Linked DNA regions of Homo sapiens: all the other regions are linked to region 2. Evidence: promoter capture Hi-C in 16 types of primary human blood cells and fetal thymus (Javierre and others, 2016). All regions are on one chromosome and are shown on one strand. Each heading gives the region's core, a stretch centred on a gene start or on the middle of the fragment in contact. The rest is flanking DNA. Distances are from core to core; before and after follow the strand shown. Region 1 overlaps CARS1 (cysteinyl-tRNA synthetase 1). Region 2 holds the start of ZNF195 (zinc finger protein 195). Region 3 has its middle 11 kb from the start of PHLDA2. Region 4 overlaps OSBPL5 (oxysterol binding protein like 5). Region 5 overlaps NAP1L4 (nucleosome assembly protein 1 like 4).

The links. The method cuts DNA at HindIII sites, captures the fragments that hold promoters and counts their contacts. A CHiCAGO score of 5 or more calls a contact.
Region 1: a fragment that was not itself captured here is called in contact with the fragment with the promoter of ZNF195 in region 2 in 1 of 17 cell types (erythroblasts); the score reaches 5.2 in erythroblasts.
Region 3: a contact is called between a fragment that was not itself captured here and the fragment with the promoter of ZNF195 in region 2, in 1 of 17 cell types (erythroblasts). The highest score is 6.0, in erythroblasts.
Region 4: a contact is called between a fragment that was not itself captured here and the fragment with the promoter of ZNF195 in region 2, in 1 of 17 cell types (erythroblasts). The highest score is 7.2, in erythroblasts.
Region 5: a fragment that was not itself captured here is called in contact with the fragment with the promoter of ZNF195 in region 2 in 2 of 17 cell types (erythroblasts and M2 macrophages); the score reaches 5.2 in erythroblasts.

What each region holds. Positions count from the first base shown.
Region 1 is chr11:3,033,669-3,038,220 of GRCh38, forward strand. CARS1 (cysteinyl-tRNA synthetase 1) reads right to left here. Exons shown (of 23, transcript NM_001014437.3): 7 at 4,382-4,531. All of the region lies in intron 1 of CARS1-AS1 (CARS1 antisense RNA 1), which reads left to right. Among named protein-coding and RNA genes, the nearest start is that of CARS1-AS1, 6.6 kb to the left of the region's middle. The HindIII fragment of the contact is 369 bases long and covers 2,490-2,858 here.
Region 2 is chr11:3,376,168-3,380,562 of GRCh38, forward strand. It overlaps ZNF195 (zinc finger protein 195), which reads right to left and starts at 2,979. Exons shown (of 6, transcript NM_001130520.3): 1 at 2,871-2,979. The coding sequence starts at 2,873. RefSeq lists enhancers at 2,680-3,243, 2,932-3,226 and a silencer at 2,685-2,754. The HindIII fragment of the contact is 5,109 bases long and covers 282-4,395 here.
Region 3 is chr11:2,937,859-2,942,405 of GRCh38, forward strand. No RefSeq gene overlaps it. Among named protein-coding and RNA genes, the nearest start is that of PHLDA2, 11 kb to the left of the region's middle. RefSeq lists a silencer at 2,251-2,427. The HindIII fragment of the contact is 1,070 bases long and covers 2,632-3,701 here.
Region 4 is chr11:3,108,745-3,113,261 of GRCh38, forward strand. The region is part of intron 7 of OSBPL5 (oxysterol binding protein like 5); the gene reads right to left. Among named protein-coding and RNA genes, the nearest start is that of CARS1, 54 kb to the left of the region's middle. RefSeq lists a silencer at 1,431-1,490. The HindIII fragment of the contact is 7,730 bases long and covers 1-4,517 here.
Region 5 is chr11:2,977,162-2,981,217 of GRCh38, forward strand. NAP1L4 (nucleosome assembly protein 1 like 4) reads right to left here. Exons shown (of 16, transcript NM_005969.4): 2 at 2,046-2,076; 3 at 1,123-1,181. The coding sequence starts at 2,059. Among named protein-coding and RNA genes, the nearest start is that of NAP1L4, 13 kb to the right of the region's middle. The HindIII fragment of the contact is 821 bases long and covers 1,437-2,257 here.

The sequences.
Region 1 (4,552 bases), core at 1,424-3,923, 340 kb before region 2:
CCAAAGGAAAAAGAAGAAAAGAAGGAATAAAGAATGGACAAAAACTGATAAAACAAAAAGACTACAGAGGATCAACACAGCCAAACTGGATCTGAGATGGTTCTTAGATACAACATGTAAAATCCCAACAGTGTCTTACATGGAACTTGACAAGCTGAGGCTTCAAAACACACCTAACGACAAAACCAAGATGGGGCCTCTTACCCATCAGATACCTGTGAGAGACAGCATGATACTCCTGCAGGACTGGGCAATTTTTATAAATTTTTTAAATTTTAAATTCTTAAACTTTTTGTAGAGATAGAGTCTCACTATGTTGTCCCGGCTGATCTCAAACTCCTGGGCTCAAGGGATCCTCTTGCCTTGGCCTCCCAAGGTGCTATGATTACAGGAACGAGCCACTGCACCTGGTCTGGGCTGGACAATTTGACCAACAGAACAGAATTAAGAGACACAAACACATGCCAACATGTAACAGAGATGAATTCGTGTCTTAGTCTGTTTTCTGTTTTTTTGTTTGTTTGTTCTTTTTTTTGTTTTCTGTTTTTTGTTTTGTTTTGTTTTGTTTTTTTGAGACAGTCTCACTCTGTTTCCCAGGCTGGAATGCAGTGGCGTGATCTCGGCTCACTGCAACCTCCGCCTCCTGGTTTCAAGCTATTCTCCTGCCTCAGCCTCCAGAGTAGCTGGGATTACAGACGCGCGCCACCACATTTGGCTAATTTTTGTATTTTTAGTAGCAACGGGGTTTTGCCATGTTGGCCAGGCTGGTCTCAAACCCCTGACCTCAGGTGATCCGCCCGCCTCAGCCTCCCAAAGTGCTAGGATTACAGGCGTGACCCACTGCGCCTGGCCGGGAATGGGTAAAATTTTTTTTCTTTTTGAGACGGAGTCTTGCTTCGTCGCCAGGCTGCAGTGCAACAGCACGATCTCGGCTCACTGCAACCTCTGACTCCCTGGTTCAAGGGATTCTCCCACCTCAGCCTCCCAAGTAGCTGGGATTACAGGCACACGCCACAACACCCAGCTAATTTTTTTTTTTTTATTTTTAGTAGAGACGGGGTTTCACCATGTTGGCCAGGATGGTCTCGATCTCCTGACCTCGTGATCTGCCCACCTCAGCCTCCCAAAGTGCTGGGATTACAGGCATGAGCCACGATGCCCTGCCTGGGAATGGGTAATTTTTAAATAAAATTTATTTCTTACAATTCTGTAGGCTGGAAAGTTCAAGGTCAAGGGGCCACATCTGTTCTGGGCCTTCTTGCTGGTGGGGACTTTTCCCAGAGTCCCAAGGTGGCGCAGAGCATCACATGGCCAGGGGGCTCATGAGGGCCAAACTGGCTTCTGTAACAGCCCCACTCTCATGATAACTACCCCACTTCTGTGATAACCCATTAATCCATTAACCCATTCATGAGGGCAGAGCTCTCATGACTCGATCACCTCTAAAAGGCCTTACCTCTTAATACTGTTACACTAGGGATTAAGTTTCAGCATGAGTTTTGGAGGGGACAAACATTCAAATCATAGTAATTAGTATCAGAAGACATAAGAATGATACAAAACAGTAAGAAAAGGACCAATAACCTCATGGGAAAGGGGGAGAGATGGGGGCACAGAATCACAGCTGGAAGCAAGCACTTGACAAGATGCTCAGTCTCAGGAGAGGTTGGAAAAAGGGACATTCAAACCACAGCAATCAGCACTTCACATTCATTGACTGATGAAAGGGAAGAATCCAACAATACAAATGCAGGTGTATGTGCAAATACACAGCACACCCAAAATGTGGTAGAAGAAGAAGAAATTTGCATAGACATTTCTTTCTTTTTTTTTAAGAGTCTGGGTCTCACTCTGCTGCCCAGGCTGGAGTGCAGTGGTGTGTTCATGGCTCACTGCAGCCTCAAACTCCTGGGCTCAGGTGATTGTCTCACCTCAGCCTCCCCAGTAGCTGGAACCACAGGCTTGCATCACCATGCTTGGCTAATTTTTAAAAGTTTTGTAGAAATAGAGTCTCACTATTTTGCCTAGGCTGGTCTGGAGCTCCTGGGCTCAAGTGATCCTCTTGCCCTGGCTTCCCAAAGTGCTGGGATTACAAGTGTGAGCCACTGTGCCTGGCCATATAGACATTTCTGATATGGCTACTATGAAGATAAAAGTGAGCCTAGAAGGTCTGTGTCTGCCACCTGAGAAAGGCCTGCCTACAGAGCTGGCCATTAGCTGGCATCCAGGAGCTGAAATGTCCCCTGTGCTAAGAGGCCGGGAAACCCAGCTCTGTGGCAGCAGCCCCCAGTGGGCTGTTGAACAAACACTGTGGCTTATGCAGGTGGAACACCAGCTTTCCTCCTGGGGAGTCAGGAATTGCGGCACGTGCCAGGCAGAGGGTGCCTATGTGATGGGCTTCCCTAGGGAGGGACATTTCACACATGTGGCTGCATTTTTTTCCTGGTGGGGGAGAGTGTGCTGTGTCCCCTCATGGGAGGCAGGGAGGAAGCTTCAGCAGCCTGCCCATGGATGATTGAAGACTCCGCCTGAGCTTCTGCTCCTCGCTGTGTCACTGCTACAAACCTTAGACAAGATGATAACTCGATGCCGAGTCTCATGAGTCCTTCTAGGGCCCCAGAATGTGTGGGCAGTGTTGGGAACCCCCGACAGTCACTCACATATATCCTACACAACCCAGCGATTCCACTTGCAGGTATATGGCCTAAAGAAACTTGCAAATGTCCACCTAGAGACAACACAAAACAACTCACAGTTCAGCAAAAGACACTCCACATCACTAGCCATTAAGGAAATGCAAACCAAAACCACAGTATACCACCTCACACCTACTGGGATGAAAAAAATGAAGAATAACAAGCTTTGGCAAGGATGTGGAGAAAACAGAACCCCATGCACTATGGGTGGGAATGTGTAATAGTGCAGCCACTGCAGAAACAATACGGTGGTTACGCAGAATATCAAAAATAGAATCATCACATGACCCAGCAATTCCACTTCCGTGTATATCCCCAAAAGAAGTGAAAGCAGGAACCCAAACAGATATTTGTACACCCAGGTTTATAGCAGCATTACTTGCATCTCCAAAAGGTGGAAACAACCCACGTGTCCACGGGCAGGTGAAAGGATGAGCAAAATGTGGCCCATCTATACACAACAGAGTATCATTCAGCCATAGGAAGGAAGCAGAGTCTGACATGCACTACAGCATGGGTCAACCATGGGCACACTATGCTGGGCAAAATAAACCAGACACAAAAAGACCCTGTCTCTACAAAAAAAAAGTTTTTAAAAATGGCTAAGATGGTAAATTTCTTATGATGTGTGTTTTACCACAATTAAAAAAAAAAAAAGAATATTAGTGGAACAACTGGGAAAAAAATTACAGCAGCATTGTTGGTAAGAAGGAAACCTAACTGCCCGTCCCAGGAGAACAGACAAACAGCTCGGCTCCCAGGCAGGCACTGAGGCAGTGACAGTGACCACATGTGGGTCGTCCCAGAAGCACAGCTTGGGTGAAAGCACACTGACGACTACATACACGTGGCGTGTTTCCGTGAAGTTTGGAAACAGGCGCAACGAAGCGATCTGCTGAGTCAGGACACAGAAGAGACCAAACTAGAAAGAAACATGCTGGCGAAGGGCAGACACAGACTCCCTGCCCCATCACTGAGGTGGGGCCAGGGCAGTGGTGAGGGAAGGCAGGGCTGCGGCCTCAGTGGGGCCTCTTTTTCTACACACAGCTGCAGCCGTCTCTTCTCTTTTCCATCGAGTTCTTAAAGGGTGACCAGCAGGCGGCGCTGGCACAAAGGAGAAGGCCTTCCTGACTGTGTCCAGGGCGCCAGCCACAGGGAAAGGCCTGAGGAAGAGGGCAGGGTCCCCTCTGCACCCAGGTCTCTGCCCTGTGTCTGAAGGAGATATTGGCAGGGGCAGGAGAGCTGGTCAACGTGAAGGCCCCAAGCTCAGTAGGTACCCACAGGCCTCAATGCTCAATTCAATGTTAATCCCTGCTCCTCCTTCTCCAGCTGGTGTGGGGAGAGTCCGCTGGAGAATCTTGGAACACTTCGACAGAAGGCTGCCTCCCCACGTTCCAAGTGCACCTCCTGCCTATCTGATGGAAGTGGTGGGAGGGTGTGGATCCCGAGTCTCCTTCCAGTGGCACAGGCTCTGCACCCAGGAAATGGGGCAAAGGGGTGTGGGAGGGGAGGGGCACTGACTCAGCCACCGCAGAACAGGGCCGCCTGCCACAGTGGAGCTACTGGAGACACAGAGTGTCTTCCACTAAGACAATCTGTGGAATCAATCCGTGCACACAGATCAGTCTATGCACGGCCCGACATTTGACCCGAACGGGCTGTCTGGGAGATGTGTGAAGCCTCACCTCCACACAGCTGTTGACTTCCTCTCCCGTGAGTCTGGACTGCACAGCTTTCTCAAGTGGCTCTGTGGCAAGCTGCACTGCGTGCTGAATCCGTTCGAGCATCTGCTTTTTATCGGGATCCGTGGTCTCATTTAATTTTACTGAAAATGGCTGCAACCATAAAGAGACGTC
Region 2 (4,395 bases), core at 1,729-4,228:
CTGCAGCTTCTCTCTGTAGAAAGGCTCCTTCCATGGTTGCTGTGAGCAGTCTGGCGCACCCGCAGGGGAGGCTCCTTGGGAAGCACTAGCTAGGCCAGGGGTGTCCGATCTTGGCTTCCCTGGGCCACACATAAAATACACTAACACTAACGATAGCTGATAACTGAAAAAAAAAAAAAATCACAAAAAAGTCTCATAATGTTTTAATAAAGTTTACGAATTTGTGTTGGACCACATTCAAAGCCCAGGCCAGCATGTGGCCCAGGCCTGTGGGTTGGACAAGCTTGAGCCAGGCCTTCGATTGCTTTCTTTTGCAGACTCAGTATTAGCCTTAGCTTGGAATGACTGTTCTTGGGCTTCAACTTCCCAATCAGGGTTATCCACTTAGGTTTAAATAAGAAAATACCCAGTGTTGGAAACATCCAACAAAATCACTGAAACAGTTTACAGAAGAAAAGGAAACTGTAAGCACTTACACTTTCACCTCCACAGAAAAAGCAAAATTATTTATTGCTTTCAGACAATGAACTTGTCATTTAACTATTTCCATAACAAATCATATAGTAAACAATCACATGTGAACACTTTTAGAAGTGCTAAGTTCCATCTCCTACAACTTAGCATTAAGCTCAGACATCTAGAGAACAGGATATAAAACAGAGATACTCATGACAACAAATTCATCCTGCAAAAAGAGCTCATGTTCTGATGAATCTATGCAATTTACCAAGTAATCTACCATAATTTTTTTGTAGAAAATGTAAACATTCTCCACAGCCATCCAAGAAGCATTTTATGTTCCCTGGTAGCATTCCCAAAGCTAAGCCCTGGGATTCTGTTGGAAATCATCTTCCACAAAAGAACAGACCTAAGTAACTTTCTACCCTTAATCACTCTGGAGAAGAAAAAGGTATGTATGACTAGATATTTAACTTTTTTCCTGAAATTGACCTATTTCATGTCCTTTGTAAGTATTTTCTTACCTTTCAAGCTCTACTGATAAAATGTAAATTTACAATTAAAAATCCAACATTGCAGTAAGTGAATAAATTATTTCAAGGAGACACAGAGAGTGGCAGTGCCGACTGGAACACAGACACAGCTAATGACTTGTGTCAAGTCAGGCTATTCTATTCCTTGGGAGATTCTCCCACCTCCATCCTGTTCACCGAAGTGCTCACCGGCCACCCCCGATGATACACTGCACTGTGCCCCGCTGAGTGTCCCAGGTGAATTTTGCTTTACAGGTTTTGCACCATCTCACGGGGTGGAGTTTTTCTTGCTCTTTGAAACATTCTGTCTCCCTTCACAAATCTGAGAGTCCAAAGGGCAGAAATGATTTCGGTCTTTTCCCTCTGACAGGGGCATGTGATTGGCTGATCAGCCATGTGTCTCCAGGGATTGAAAGTTGGGTTGGGTGAAGACAATCTTAATGTCCTAAGTGGTTACCTCTTTAGAGGAAGAGTAGACCAGGAGATTTCTCTCAGCCCAGGGCATCCAGCTGCTCCCTGGAGAGGCCACACTTCATACCTCAGGCTGTCCTCTGAGAAATAACCCAGGGCCTGAAATTCACTAGATGCTCCAGCAGACATGGCCATGGTGGGCATCCTGTGTTATCCCTGGACAATACTGAAACTGAGGAAAAAGTCCAGAGGGTGGCTGAGAGCAAATCACCCTGTCAAGTTTCCAAAGTGGAACCTCAAACCAAAGACATTCTGGTAAGGTGTCTGTGCCTAGGGAAAATAAAAAGGAGGAGAGGCACAAAGACTTTTTACAATAGCGTCAGGGGATGATTCTCTGCTTTCCTGTCACGTGGAATGATTACAAACAGAAAACAAATCTCTTAAAAAGTGCCGTCCAGGCTGGGCGCAGTGGCTCACGACTGTAATCCCAGCACTTTGGGAGGCCAAGGCAGGCGGATCACATGAGGTCAGGAGTTCAAGACCAGCCTGGCCAACATGGTGAAACCCCGTCTCTACTAAAAATACAAAAATTAGCCGGGCGTGGTGGTGCAGGACTGTAATCTCAGCTACTCGGGAGGCTGAGGCAGGAGAATTGATTGAACCCGGGAGGCAGAGGTTGCAGTGAGCCGAGATCGCGCCACTGCACTCCAGCCTGGGGGACAGAGCGAGACTCCATCTCAAAAATAATAATAATTAAATAGCAGGCAATCCGACTGAGGTGGCTCTAGTGCCCTGGGTTCTTAGGTTAAAAAAAAAAATCTAACTCAGATGCGTTTCTTGCAAATGACTATCTTGCAGAAACAAAATTCAGGCTTCGTCAACCACAAACCTCTAATTAACTTCTGATTACAGGACCAGAAAATTTCAGCCTAGATAGCTGAAATCAGGAGATGACGTAACTGTACCGAACTAATGAATGAATGTGGTTTGCTTCCTCATGCACCTGATAAAAGCCTTTCCTTCAAGGCCGGCTGGTGGGACCTCCAAACCCAAAAAACATGGTTGGGTCCTCTGCCATTCATGAATCGCTCTTTGCTCAAATAAAACTCTTTCACATTTTTGCAAGGACTCCCTCGAGAGAAAGGAGGGACTGGGGCCCCCACGGGCTACAGATCATCCTCTTATGCACAAACCACCCACGGAGTCGGGATTCTCCCTTCCTGACTCGGGGAGACGAGGGTCTGCGGGCGAAGAGCTGCCGGGGGGACATGGCTCTGGGCTTGGGCCAAAGCCGCTCTGCAGGGATGCGCCGGGGCGCGCGGGGCCCGGCCGCCATGGTGCAGCTGGAGGGGCCTCGGGTCCGCGGAGCCCGGAACCCACCCGGGCAGCCCGGTTCCTCCCGAGCCGGTACCGCGGGTTCCAGTCCGCCCCTCCCTGTCTCTCAGGAGGCCTGGCCCCTACACTCACCATCTCCTGGCCTCCAGAGAGCCTGGCGTTTCACTTCTGGATCTCCCGGTGCCTGCGGGTCACACGACCTACGGCTAGCAGGGGACACAGAGCCGCGGGGACAGGAAGTGGAGCTCTGTCGGGACAAAGGCCCCGCTAGATCCCGGAAGCCGTCCTCTCCTCTCCAGACATGTGCCTGATTGGACAGTCCCCGCCCCTACTCCTCTGATTGGATAGGGCATCACGCCCCGCCCCCTCAGGCCCTGAGTGACAGGAGCTGTAATCAGACAATGGGCCGAATGAGACAGCAAGGACAGGTGCTGGCCGCGATCTTTTGGAGCGGGGCTTCCTGCCTGCGCTGTCCGGCCCCACCTAGAGGATATTTACATTTCATCTTGTGACTGCGGTTATGTTTATTTATAAATAATAAATATATGTTATTCACCAATGGAAAGAAGAAAATAAAGACAATCATTTTGAATTTTTATATTTTATGGCCTTCCTGGCTTTTGGTCCTTTGAACAGACAGCCTGAAATTTCAAAAAGGATTCAAGCCTCTAAGAATTAAAATGTAAGCCATGTGTGAATCTTAAATTTTCTAGTAGCCACGTTTTAAAATGTACTAAGAAACAGGTGAAGTTGATTGTAATAATTTAACCCAGTATGTAACCATTTTCCTCTATGGTCAATATACAATTGGTAAGGAAGTATATATTTTGGGGTACTAAATCTTTGAAGCTCACTCTGTATTTTACCTTTTCAGCACATTTCAGTTCAGACCAGCTGTATTCCTGTTATTCAATAGCCACACATGATCAATAGCTGCCACACTAAAGTGCAGCTCTGAGGTCTAACCTCCCTTATGTCAGGAAGTGGAGGGTCTGAAAGTCCCTTTTCAGCCAGAGGTGAGGGAACAGCCTCTTGCTACAAACATCTCTCCTCCGGTCGAAGGGTGGACGAGATGGTGATCCTAGAGAGCATAGGGGAAAGCAAAAGAAAATATCCACGGGTAGAGGACTGCTGCCCATCAATAATGGGGCCCTAAGAGGAGAGAACACATCTTCAGATCTGTCCATAGCCTTGACCTCCAACATTTAGATATGGAGGAAATAGACTAGAGGCAGACTTATCTTGCTATTTGGCCTTAGCCCTAATGATCAAGCTGTGATTGTCTGTTTCTTCCCGTGGTTGGGGGGCTGTGTGAGTAAAAGCACCAATCACATATATACATGTGTACATGCATTTCTGTATGACGGAACATTATCTTACAAAAGATCCAACTTTAAATAAGGGGGGAGAATTAGTACCTATAAAGTGCTTTCTTCTTGCAGGTAACTAGGAATCAACCTTTCATTGAATCCTGGCACCCTATCTGCCCTGGGTGCATGTATTAGTTAGCTATTGCATAACAAATCACCGAAAACTTAATAGCTCATGATTGAGTTCATCAGCCATTCACGCTGAACTCAACTGAGCTATTCTTGTCACAACTGGACTGCTTCATGTATGTATGGCCAGCTGCTGGTTGACTAGGTGGCTCTGCTTC
Region 3 (4,547 bases), core at 1,917-4,416, 440 kb before region 2:
TGTGAATACGCTCGGTGTGAATACGCTCGGTGTGAATATGCTGTGTGAAAATGCTCGGTGTGAATACGCTTGGTGTGAATACGCTTGTAATATGCTCGGTGTGAATATGCTTTGTGTGAATATGCTTTGTGTGAAAATGCTTAGTGTGAATACGCTCAGTGTGAATACGCTCGGTGTGAATATGCTCGGTGTGAATATGCTCGGTGTGGTGTGAATATGCTTGTAATATGCTCGGTGTGAATATGCTTTGTGTGAATATGCTTTGTGTGAAAATGCTTAGTGTGAATACGCTTAGTGTGAATACGCTCGGTGTGAATATGCTCGGTGTGAATATGCTCGGTGTGAATACGCTTAGTGTGAATACGCTCGGTGTGAATATGCTCGGTGTGAATATGCTCGGTGTGGTGTGAATATGCTTGTAATATGCTCGGTGTGAATATGCTCAGTGTGAAAATGCTTAGTGTGAATACGCTTAGTGTGAATATGCTTGGTGTGAATATGCTCGGTGTGAATATGCTTGGTGTGAATATGCTTGTAATATGCTCGGTGTGAATATGCTTTGTGTGAATATGCTGTGAATATGCTCAGTGTGAAAATGCTTAGTGTGAATACGCTTAGTGTGAATACGCTTAGTGTGAATATGCTTAGTGTGAATACGCTTAGTGTGAATATGCTCGGTGTGAATATGCTTAGTGTGAATACGCTGTGAATACGCTTAGTGTGAATATGCTCGGTGTGAATATGCTCGGTGTGAATATGCTCGGTGTGGTGTGAATATGCTTGTAATATGCTCGGTGTAAATATGCTCAGTGTGAAAATGCTTAGTGTGAATACGCTTAGTGTGAATATGCTTGGTGTGAATATGCTCGGTGTGAATATGCTTGGTGTGAATATGCTTGTAATATGCTCGGTGTGAATATGCTTTGTGTGAATATGCTTTGTGTGAATATGCTCAGTGTGAAAATGCTTAGTGTGAATACGCTTAGTGTGAATATGCTCGGTGTGAATATGCTCGGTGTGAATATGCTTAGTGTGAATACGCTGTGAATACGCTTAGTGTGAATATGCTGTGTGAATATGCTTAGTGTAACTATGCTTAGTGGCACTGAACTGTGCACTTTAAAAAATGGTTAAGAATGTAACTTGTGATGTACCCTTTACCAGTTTTAAAAATGCATTTACATATGAATATCCATGCAGGCGGGGGTATGAGCTTGTGTCTCTTCCTCTGTCTGGGCCATCTTCCAGGAACCCCCCACCCCAGCCCTCATTATCTGGAATCCTCCATGTCTCAGCCACCCCTTGTGATGGTTGGGCTTGGGCTGGGTCCCTGTTGCTGTCATCTTACATGGCACTGCCTTCCTGCACACCAGACATGGCACTGCTGGGCTAGCAAGGCCCTCAGATGTGTGGTAACTGCCAAAATGGCCTGCCAGTGGGGCTGTTCCTATTCACCCTTTCCCCCAAGGGCTGCAATGCCAATCTCCCCATGGCTAGGCCAATGGTGGGCACTCTGTACTTAAAAAAAAAAGTCAATCTGGGCAATAGCTCACGCCTGTAATCCAACACTTTGGGAGGTCAAGGTGAGTGGATCACTTGGGTTCAGGAGTTTGAGACCAGCCTGGCCCACATGGTGAAACCCTGTCTCTACTAAGAATAGAAAAAATTACCCTAGTGCAGTGGCATGCACCTGTAATCCCAGCTACTCGGGAGGCTGGGGCAGAAGAATTGCTTCACCCTGGGAGGTAGAGGTTGCAGTGAGCTGAGAAAGTGTCACTGCACTCCAGCCTGGGCCATAGAGTGAGACCCTGTCTCAGGAAAAACCAAACAACCAAACAAACGAACAAAACAACAACAACAACAACAACAAAACCCCACAATCTGGTGGTCAAAAACTGAGGTCTTCACACACATTTCTCTATCCCTGGGGTGGGGGCAGCCATCTCTCTGGGTGTCTGTGGCCTTTGGCGTGGCTGTCTTTTCCCCTCTTCATGTGCTTTGGTCTGTTTGAAAGACCCCTTTCATGGACTGAATGGTGGCCCCCAATAAGACATATCCATGTTCTACTCCCTGAAACCCACGAATGTTACCTTTGATGGCAAATGGGTGAACATGACCTTAGTGGCTAGGGTGTGATATAGGAAAGGCCCCTGAGAGCAGGAGCTTCCCCTGGACTACCCAGGTGGGCCTCACAAGGGAGAACTATGGAGAAGCAGGCATAGGGGTAGGAGGCCACGTGAGACAGAGGCAGAAATCGGAAGGAAGTGGCTGCAAGCCAAGGAATGCCTGGAGCCCCCAGATGACGAGGAAGGGTCCCCACATAAGGTCTGGTGTTCTGGTCCTTGGGGAGGGCAGCCCCTGCTGAAAAGGGGCAGGTTGAGACCCAGGGACCACTTCAGGCCCTCGCTGGCGGCCCCCAGGCTGGGGGCAGCAGACTCTAGCAACTCTGGCCAGTGCCTGCACCTGAGGCCCCATCTCCAGGCGTTCCCTCTTGTCCTCCCAGCCCTGCACCCGCCTTGCTCAGTGAGGCACTGTCCTCCCTCCTCGGACTGGCTTCCAGCCAGGCAGGCACTGGTGAGGGCCGGTGTGGGCAGCCCTGCCATGCCCAGGGTCTGGGTTCTGAGGAGGTGAAGCTTCTCCCCATGTCCCAGATACAGAAACTGAGACCTAGGGAGATTTGGAAACTTGGTGGACACCACAGACTTCTTGAGGAGCTCGACAAGGGTGATCTGTGTGGGTCCGCCCTGAGTGGGGTCCTGGACACAGCTGTAGCTGCCCCGTTTCTCCTGGGCTGGGCTGGGCTGGGCCAGGCTGTTGGGTTGTCATGGTAAGTAACATCCGGCTGCCACCCTCAGAGAGCCATGAGTCAGCATGGCCAGGATGGGCTAGTGATTGGCACCTTGGGGACAGCCTAGCAGGCGGGGCCTCCCTCAGGCACACCAAGGTGACCTGGCCTCGGCAAGAGGCGTCCAGGCCTCACCCTGCAAGAGCTGGGCCCTGGCTTCTGTCCTGAGACTCGGGTCTGCATCTCTTAAATGGGGAATGTCCCAGGCGCATGAGGTGCCTGGAAACCCACACCAAATTCAGCGCATCAGAAGCTCAGCCAGGGCCAGCCCGAGGAGGCGTCCTTCCAGGAGGCCCTGCTGTTGGGGGCCACTGCTTGCCAGTGTCTCCTGGTGGGTGGGGTCCAAACAGCTGGGCCTGGGGTCCCTTGGGCCCCCCACTCCACATGGGGATGCTCCCTGGGGCGGGCTGGGGAGGAGGTGCCTGCTCCAGCAGAAGGAACCTGGGAAGGCACCTGTTCTGAGGGTTTTGGGGCAGAGGCCGAAGTCCATGCCAGGCTGTGGCCAGGCTGGCCTGGCTGGCAGGGAACCACAGGCTTCTGCACACAGCAACCCCTTCTGCAGGCCCAGGGCTCCCTCAGGGCACTGCAGCTGGAGTTGGCTGAGTCTGGGACGGTCACTTCTCCCACCGCTGCCCCTGGCTGTTCCTCTGTTGCTCACCAGTTGCCCAGCCCTGAGCCCTGACTCAGAGCCAGGCAAGCCAAGGACCCAGCAGGGGCAGGTCAGAGGTCAGTAATATCAAGGTGTGCCTGGATGAGCCAGGCAGAGGCCAGGGGCTCCACCTACCCACCTGGCTGGCTGGTGGAGCCAGCTGGCTGCCCCCTACCCACCCCACCCCTGCCTCCCACCTCAGGGGCAAGCTTGGATCCTGGCAGCTCATGCTGACTCAGCCTGCCCAGCGATGGGGCTGGGGGCAGCCTAGGGCATTTTGAGAGTGGGACAAGATGGGTGGGGTGGCAGGAAGCCCTGGACCTGGGACTTGGGGAAGGGGGCTCTGGCCCCATGGGTGGCCCTTGGGCCTGGGGAGGTTTGCTGGGCAGCAGGACAGGAGCAGAGTGGGATGTCGGCTTGGTCCCAGCTCCACATAAACGGGAGTCATGAGCCTAGAGAGCAGACTGGCCAGGTAGGCTGACCTGGGGTACACACCACCCGCGGACCCACACGCCAGGCAGCTGTGGACAAGGGTCCCAGGTGACCCTGCTGGGGAAAGCAGCAGCCATCAGGTTCTAGGGAGCCATAGCTCCTGACTCAAGGGAAAAAACAGAATTTTAAGTGGAATCACCCTGTTTTGGGGACTTCTGAAAACTGAGCTTCAGGCCAGGCACGGTGGCTCACACGTGTAATCCCAGCACTTTGGGAGGCCAAGGTGGGTAGTTCACCTGAGGTCAGGAGTTCGAGACCAGCCTGGCCAACATGGTGAAACCCCATCTCTACTAAAAATACAAAAATTAGCCAGGTGCAGTGGTGCATGCCTGTCATCCCAACTACTTGGGAGACTGGGCAGGAGAATCGCTTGAACCTGGGAGGTGGAGATTGCAGTGAGCCGAGATGGTGTCACTGCACTCCAGGCTGGGCAATGGAGCGAGTCTCCGTCTCAAAAAAAAAAACAACGCTGAGCTTCATTGAGGACTAACTTATATACAACCAAATATACCCATTTTTGATGTAACTCAATGAATTCTGACAGACGTATACACCTGTGTA
Region 4 (4,517 bases), core at 338-2,837, 270 kb before region 2:
GACAGGTCACACTATTAATAAGGTTTTTGTTTGTTTGTTTTGAGATGGGGTTTTGCTCTTGTTGCCCAGGTGGGAGCACAATGGCACGATCTCAGCTCACCGCAACCTCTGCCTCCCGGGTTCAAGCGATTCTCCTGCCTCACCCTCCTGAGTAGCTGGGATTACAGGCATGCACCACCACACCCGGCTAATTTTGTATTTTTAGTAGAGACAGGGTTTCCTCATGTTGGTCAGGCTGGTCTCGAACTCCCGACCTCAGGTGATCTGCCTGCCTTGGCCTCCCAAAGTGCTGGGATTACAGGTGTGAGCCACCACACCGGGTCAATAAGTGTGTTTTTTGTTTTTGTTTTTTTGTTGTTTTGAGATGGAGTCTCGCTCTGTCACCCAGGCTGGAGTGCAGTAGGGTGATCTCAGCTCGCTGCAACCTCTGACTCCAGGGTTCAAGTGATTCTCCTGCCTCAACCTCCCAAGTAGCTGGGATTACAGGTGCCTGCCTGTAATTTTTTTGTATTTTTAGTAGAGATGGGGTTTCACCATGTTGGCCAGGCTGGTCTCAACCTCTGGGCCTCAAGTGATCTGCGTCGGCCTCCCAAAGTGCTGGGATTACAGGTGTGAGCCACTGTGCCTGGGCTGTTAGTAAGTGTTATTCAAAGAAAGCCTCCTGGGGTCACGTCAGGTGGGAGGATGGGGCTGAAGAGCATTGAAGGCGGTTCTGTGCCTCTCTGAGCCTCTGCCTTTTCGAGCTCCTGGAGACAGTGAGTTTTTCTCCCTCACTTTGAGATCCATTAAATCCTGCTCTTCGTGGGGCATCTCAGGGTCCAGTGTAGGGAGGGGCCTGCCTAGACAGTGGCTCCTGGGTCTCTAGAGCTGCCCTTCTCATTGGGTTGGGGGGATATCTGGGATCCTGCTGGTTCCACTGCAGGCTTGGTTGGTGCCAGAGCGGCCAAGCCTGGGCGGAACACCAGGGTTGGGGGAGGGATGGCAGTGGATGGTGGTGGGGAGCTGGAGGGGTCACAACTGCCGAGTTGGCCCCAGGGCCTGAACACGTGTGCTTTGTAGCTGCCACAAAGGACTAGACATCCTGAATATTATGCATCCTTTGAAGCTCATTCCGAGACCTCTTCCTCCTCTTCCTGGAAGCCCACCCTGATACCCACAGGGGCTGCAGACACCTCTCCTCCCGAATGGTGGCCCACACCCTATCAGGGGCTCAGCTCACACCTCAGCCCAACCTGCCTTATCTGATGGTTGGTTATCCACCTCACCCAGGAGCACAGAGGCTGTGGGCTGCCCTGGCCATCCCCGGGCCTGCATGGGACCTGGCACATAGTGGGGCACTCAGGATGGCCCAGGAAGGAGCATGGATGTGGCATCTGACCACCAGGGGTGATGTGGCACCGAGACTCCAACCTGAGAGGCACCGGAGCCCCGTGGTCAAGGCCAGACTGCTTTAGGTCTGCACCACCGGCGGGATGGGAGCCCTTCACCCCACTGCTCTGGGAGGCATCACCCTGGGGTTAGAGGAGGTGGAGCAACCGCATTTACCCAGAGCAGCCACTGGAGGGCGAGGTGGGGTAGGGCCCCAACCTCAGGTTAGAGGGAGGAACGGCCAAGAGGGAATCCCTCCAGGTGGAGGATCATCGCAGTCACAGCTGCCTGAGCGGCCACTCAGGGAACAGCAACAGCGTGCAATGCATTTGGGAGTCAGGGAAATTCTCGTTCTAGCACTTTCTTGCTGGCAGTTTGCCTGTGCCTCAGTTTCCTGACCTGTCTAATGTGGATGATAACAGTAGAACCTGTTGTTTCAATGGTGCCTGGTGTGAAAGGAAAATCTTGGGCCCCTCAAATCACTAAGCTAAAGGGAAAAACCCAAGCTGGGAACTGCTTAGGGCCAACCTGCCTCCCATTCTATTCCAAGTCACCCCTCTGCTCACTGAGATAAATGCATATCTCATTGTCTCCTTTGGAGAAGCTCATCAGAAACTCAAAAAAATGCAACCATCTTTCTCTTATCTACCTATGACCTGGAAGCCCCTCCCCGCTTGAAGTTGTCCCGCCTTTCCAGACCAAACCAATGTTCATCTTACATATGTTGGTTAATGTCTCATGTCTCCCTAAAACCAAACTGTGCTCTGACCACCCTGGGCACATCGTCAGGACCTCCTGAGGCTGTGTCACAGGTAGGCGTCTTCAACCTTGGCAAAATAAACTTTCTAAATTAACTGAGACCTGTCTCAGATTTTCAGGGTTCAAACATTTTGGTAACCACTGAAGGATTCTGAGTGGAGATGCCCCTGACTTTTCACAAGTCTCCTATTGGTGCTTGGTACCAGCTTGAGCTAACTTTATGGCTCAAACCAATAAGACAATTTGCTGAGGCCTGGAAGCACCTCCCCCCGTGCCCCACCCCCACCCCCTGCCACAGAGAATCCCTGATCTCTCAAAATTTGGTCGAGATCTAAAGTTTATTTTGTTTTACAACTTCTCTTTTTGGAGTTTTACTTGCTTCCGATACAAGGAAGGCAAGTTTTCCCTGCTTCCATGACGATGGAAGGCAGGTAACTCCTTTATGGAGTTCGAGCTTGCTTCCAACAGGGAAGATGAATTTTTTTTTTTTCCTGCTCCCAGGATGGTGGAGATCTGAGTTTTCAGCCTGAGACCCATCCCTAGGGAAGTAACTGAATTGTGGTTTGTCTTAGCTAAAGTTAAGATTAACAACCAGCTGGTCTTAATTTCTCCTTACCATTAGAGCACTCAGTGATCACGTAAGTTGTGCGATTGTTTGTTTCGCTTAACTGTTTTTTTGTTGTTGATTGTTTCTGTTTTTGTTGTTTTGGTCTTTTTCCCATTGACCTCTATCTGGCTTGATCAAATCTGAAGGAAGTTCCAAATTATGGGGAACAAGGCCTCTGAAGTGGCTGAATTCCCCTCCCCACCCCCACACACAATGGTGGCGTGATGGGGGGAGAAAAACGGCCAGCAAAAGGAAAAAAAAAAGAGGAAAGATTTTGATTTTGACTACTAAGGGGCTTTATTCATATAACAAGGCCACATTTTCACTAGCTAGGCCAAACTGAAAGAGTAATGACTGTACTTCTGTGTCCTCGTTGAAATTTGTCCTAGTTGAAATATGGAATGAGATTTAAAAAGATTTTTTCAAAGAAGCTCAATGGTTAAAAGTCAGTTTAATGAAAAGCTAACATCCAAGCTGTGTGTGTGTGTGTGCATATGTGTGCGCGCATGTGTGTGCATGTGTGTGTGTGTGCGCGCATGTGTGTGCATGTGTGTGTATGTGTGCGCGCATGTGTGTGCATGTGTATGTGTGTGTGCATGTGTGTGTGCATGTGTGTGTGCATATGTGTGTGTGCATGTGTGTGTGTGCGCATATGTGTGTGTTTGTATTTAAGAGACCTTCATGTTTCTGTTTTTGTTTTTCTCCTAGGACCTTGTCTTTTTTTGAGCAAAAGGGTTTTTTCTTCTCAGTTGACTGAATTCTGTTTCTTGATTTACTTCTGCTGTCTCTCCTTTCTCTTGCACCTTCTGCCGCATGGGGGACCTAAAATAGTTTATAGTAGCCTGGGGTTCCTTAAAGAAAATGGAGAGGGTGCCAGACTCCCCTTGGGGGAGAAACTTGTTTTTTCTTATGAAACCCCAAGAATGTAAACAGACAAGTTTGTCTCAGCTCTTAAACTGCTTACTTTTGTATTGTGTAACCTGTTTTGTGTTTTCTTTTCTTTTTTTTTTTTTTTTTGACTAAAGTAGTTATTGCAACAGTGGTTACTCTTGGGCTTTTAAGGAAGAGTGTGGTTTAGACACTTAGAAATGTCTTTGTTTAAAAAAAATTTGTAAGTGCACTATAAAAGCATCACGTGGTCTAACCTCATGATAATTCTCCCTTTCTGGAGACCTAGGATTCAGTGTGGGCTCTTCCCAGAGCTCAGAGATCCAGTTAAATGATAGGTAGTCCCTACTACATAAAATTGGTCTCCTTATGCAATCCTATGATAGATTTCTATAATTTTGTTTGATTTGGCATCCATCTTTAGTCTCCCTCTAGCACCACCAGACTTTTTCTCTCTGTACCTTATGCAAATTTTGCTATTTGATTTTCACCTGAGTTGTTTCCCTTAATATGCAAATTTAAGGCTATTTAGCTGACAATTGCCTAGGGTTGTGAAACAGGTTATCAAGAATCTGAAAGTCTAAGACAGGAAAAAAAAATTTTTATAAACCTATGAGATGTACTTCTATTGCCATGCCTAATATGTCTATGTATTTATGTGTCGTGTACACAATGTTTCACTACTGAAAATATATAAAAGGGCTCTAATTGATTGGCTTAAGAAAGTAAATGCACTTGAATCAAATACTTGATCAGGAAAAAAGAAAAGACAAGTCAAATGCTTTTTCAAGTTTATGTAACTTAAATAAAATCTTTAATAAATAAGCTAGCTTTAAAATTATTGGTAAAGTAATATTAGAAATGTCTTAAGAATTGCCAGCATATATTTTTGTTT
Region 5 (4,056 bases), core at 597-3,096, 400 kb before region 2:
CATATACAAACACATATGAATGGGTGCTAAAACCTCCGTGTGAAAGTTTGCTGAAGAGGAAGAGGATATCTACACGTGCCTGACAGATTGCTTCCAAGGTGAAAGGACCTTGGTAACAGAGAAGTCTGGCAGGCACTGTCTTAATCATCAATCTCAGTGTCCTTGGGCAGGTGCCGAGCCAACACCCTGTGCCTCCGGAACCAACGACCACTGCATCATGTTACCTGTGTGCCCTTCTTGCCAAAATGTTTACCCTGAATCTCATCAGGAAGAAACGACTGGGCAAATCCAGACTGTGAGCATTCTATAAGACAACAGTGGCCCAGAGCGCTGATATGTTGATGTATTAATAAAAGATGCAAAAGGTAGGGAGATGACTCTAGAACAAAACAAAACGCATGATCCTTGAATAGGTGCTAGATTCGGGCGTGGGGTAAAAATTGCTGAGAAAACCAGGGAAACAGGAGCATGACTGTCTATTAGAGAATGGTATTGCTCCAGTGTTAAGTTTCTTGGTAATGACATTGTAGAATTGTTTTAGGAAAATAGATATCCACCACTTGCTTTCAAACAGTTTGGAGGGAGTGGGGAGTACAGATATAGTTTTTTTTAATGGTGGAAAAATATCACATCTGTGAATTTATGAACAAAATGACATTCTTAGGATTTGCTTTCCAAAGGAAGGAAAGTAAAGGGTATAGACTTAAAAAAAAAAAAAAAAAATGGCCAGGAGCAGTGGTCTGTGCCTGTAGCCCCAACTACCTGGGAGGCTGCGGCAGGAAACTGCTTGAGCCCAGGAGTCCAAGACCAGCCTGGGTAACACAGCAAGGCTCCATCTCAAAAATAAGAAAAAAGACTGGTCATTTGTTAATCAATACTAAAGCTCACTGATGGTAGCTACAAGAAGGTAGACTGTACTATTACTCTCTTTACTACTGTAGAGTCTGAATTCCTATAATAAATACATCTTTTGTTAATGAGATACTGATTTTTCATTTTAATTACTCTAGCTTTCCTAAAACCACTGCAGTACAGGAATCCTTTACTTGCATTAATAAATGTTTCCAGAGAGAGGAACGTTCCCCATACTGGATGCAAACTCTCCATGTGCAGTGGACTGACCTGTGTTACTTGCATTTTTAGCAGCTTCCACGGAATCTGAAGGAACCCCATCTGAAAAACTAAAACAACAGTATGTTTAAAAAGTATTACTGTAAAGAAAGTTCCAAAGACATAGCACAAATGGACATGTTTCTTATTCAATATATTAAGAGGTATCTGTACAGTGACGTCAGATTTGGGCAGAAGAAAACTACCAATGTGCATGTTATCTCAGAGGCTGTCCTCTCTGCTATAAAAATATTCTACTACGTAACATCCCCTCTCCTCTCCCAAACATAAAGCCCTACAAAGTTCTTATTTCCAACCTTAGCCAAAGCTTCTTAGCTCTCATTTCTACAGCTTCTTTCCTCAAAAAATCTGCTCCCAGCCCTCAAACCAAACCCATCAACCAACGAACATGTTACTGTTTGGTCAGCTGCTCATGTGATCAGAGCAAGGCAGTCTTACCAAGTTAAGACAGTGCCCAAAGTGGCTTTGTAAAATTAGCCACAACAAGTGTAAAATGAGCCATGAAACAGTTTTTAAAGATGCCTGGACACACCTCCCTCACAAAAAATAAACATCAAATAATATACACAACTAAAAGTAACCCTCAATCCACAAAACAAAATCTTCCACTTGATCACTGACAACTACAGACTGTTAGGAGAGTGTCAAAATTACCTAACTTCACCCCAGGGGTGTTAAAGCATGGAGAGCAAAACGATTGCTTTCCATAAAAGATCTGTAGTGTCAATGTCTGAGGCACTGTTCATGTCGGAAGTAATTTCTTTACGTGCTCAAATACATACACAAGAAATGAGCCATCAGCTAGACGCTGAAATGCATTTAACTTTGATTCTAATTATTTATTGAAAAATGGCTTGGCTGTTGCTCACCAACTGAATTTTAAACTCCAATAAACAAAGTCCACTTTGGCTTACCTGTGATCTGCCATCTGAATGTTTTTATCCCCTATAAATTAAAAAGAGTTGTAATAATTATATTCATAAGCAAAAATGTTTGTTCAATATACTTTTTAAACAACGGTTATCTGTGGGATGGAGTCCACTAGAAGGGACAGGAGGGAACTTTCTAGAGTGATGAAAATGTTCTAGATCTTGACTGAGGTTACCTGAGTATATACACTTGTTAAAGCTTATTAAACTATACACTTCAGATCTGTGCATTTCATCACACACAAACTTTACTCATAAAAAAATTTCTCGGCCTGGCGCGGTGGTTCACGCCTGTAATCCAAGCACTTTGGGAGGCCGAGGTGGGTGGGTCACTTGAGCTCAGGAGTTCGAGACCGGCCTGACCAACATGGTGAAACCCCATCTCTACTAAAAATACAAAATTAGCTGAGCGTGGTGGTGCACGCCTGTAATCCCCGCTACTCAGGAGGCTGAGGCAGAAGAATCACTTGAACCCAGGAGGCGGAGGTTGCAGCGAGCGGAGATCATGCCACTGCACTCCAGCCTGGGCAACAAGAGTGAAACTCCATCTAAAAAAAAAAATAAAATAAAATAAAATTATCTTATTGGCACTAAAATAACCAGACTTCAGAATAACATTAATTCTAATTTGCCTTATTTTTTATAATACATTCGGCAACACAAACATACATTAATGATAGCCCAACCATTTTAGAGTAAGTCAAAGCATTTACTGGTGTTTACACTTTCAAATTAACTTATGGGATTATTTTCTAATTGCATTTGTTTATTCCGTATCTTCCATTACTTCTACACTGAGGATGTATTGCTTGTGTAAAAACCTTGTGTAATATACTCAGTATTATTCCACTTTTAAAGATGATTATTTCTATATTGGTAGAATTAGATGACATTGTAACTGAATATTAAGGGTGTGTTCTAGGGCATTTACTTCTTAAATAGAAGAACTTGATATTAATAAAACTAAAAAAAAGTTATCATTTTTTTTGAGACAGGATCTCAGTCACCAAGGCTGCAGTGTAGTGATGCAATCCTGGCTCACTGCAGCCTCAACTTACTGGGCTCAAGCAATCCTCCCATCTCAGCCTCCTGAGTAGCTGGGACAACAGGCGCAGGCCACCATGCCCAGCTAATTTTATTTTTTGTAGAGATAGGGTCTGGCTAAGTTGCCCAGGCTGAGTCCCAAACTCCTGGCCTCAAGAGATCCTCCCACCTCAGCCTACCAAAGTGTTGGGATTACAGGTGTGAGTCAACACGCCTGGCCTATACAATTTCAAAATCTAATCTAAATGCATTTAAAGTAACAGCTAAATGCACAGCTTAAAAAGGTCCTTAAATGTAAAATAATACAGGTGTGGTTACGAAGTTCCTTAAACTCAGATGTGGGAAATACACCTGAGGGCCTCGCTAAACGGTTGTTCCAGCTGAAAACTGGCCAATGTTCATTCTTCAGTACCTGAGCAAAGCCCAAACCACTGAATCACATAGCTTTAGGGTAAAACCAACAACAAAAAAACCCCTCTATATTTAACAAAAACAGTTCTAATTATGATCTATGACTGTCCTGTATTTAACTCAACTACTTTTTTAAAATTTTTATTGTTTAGAAATAAAACGTGCTATTTTTAAGATTCAAAATACAACAAATATTACACATTGTCTTTTTCAAAAAAAATAAATTATGTTTTAATGAAGAAGATGAAAACCAAAAAGAAAAAAAAAATGCAGCAGGCACAGTGGTTCATGCCTATAATCCCAGCACTTTGGGAGGCCAAAGTGGGCAGATTAGTTGAAGCTCAGGAGTTTCAGACCAGCCTGGGCAACATGGGGAAACCTCGTCTCTACAAAAACAAACAAACAAACAAAATTAGCCAGGCGTGCTGGTGTGAACCTGTAGTCCCAGCTACTCAGGAGGCTGAGGCAGGAGAATCGCTCGAGCACAGGAGGCAGAGGTTGCAGTAAGCTGAAATAACACCACTGCACTCCCGCCTGGAAG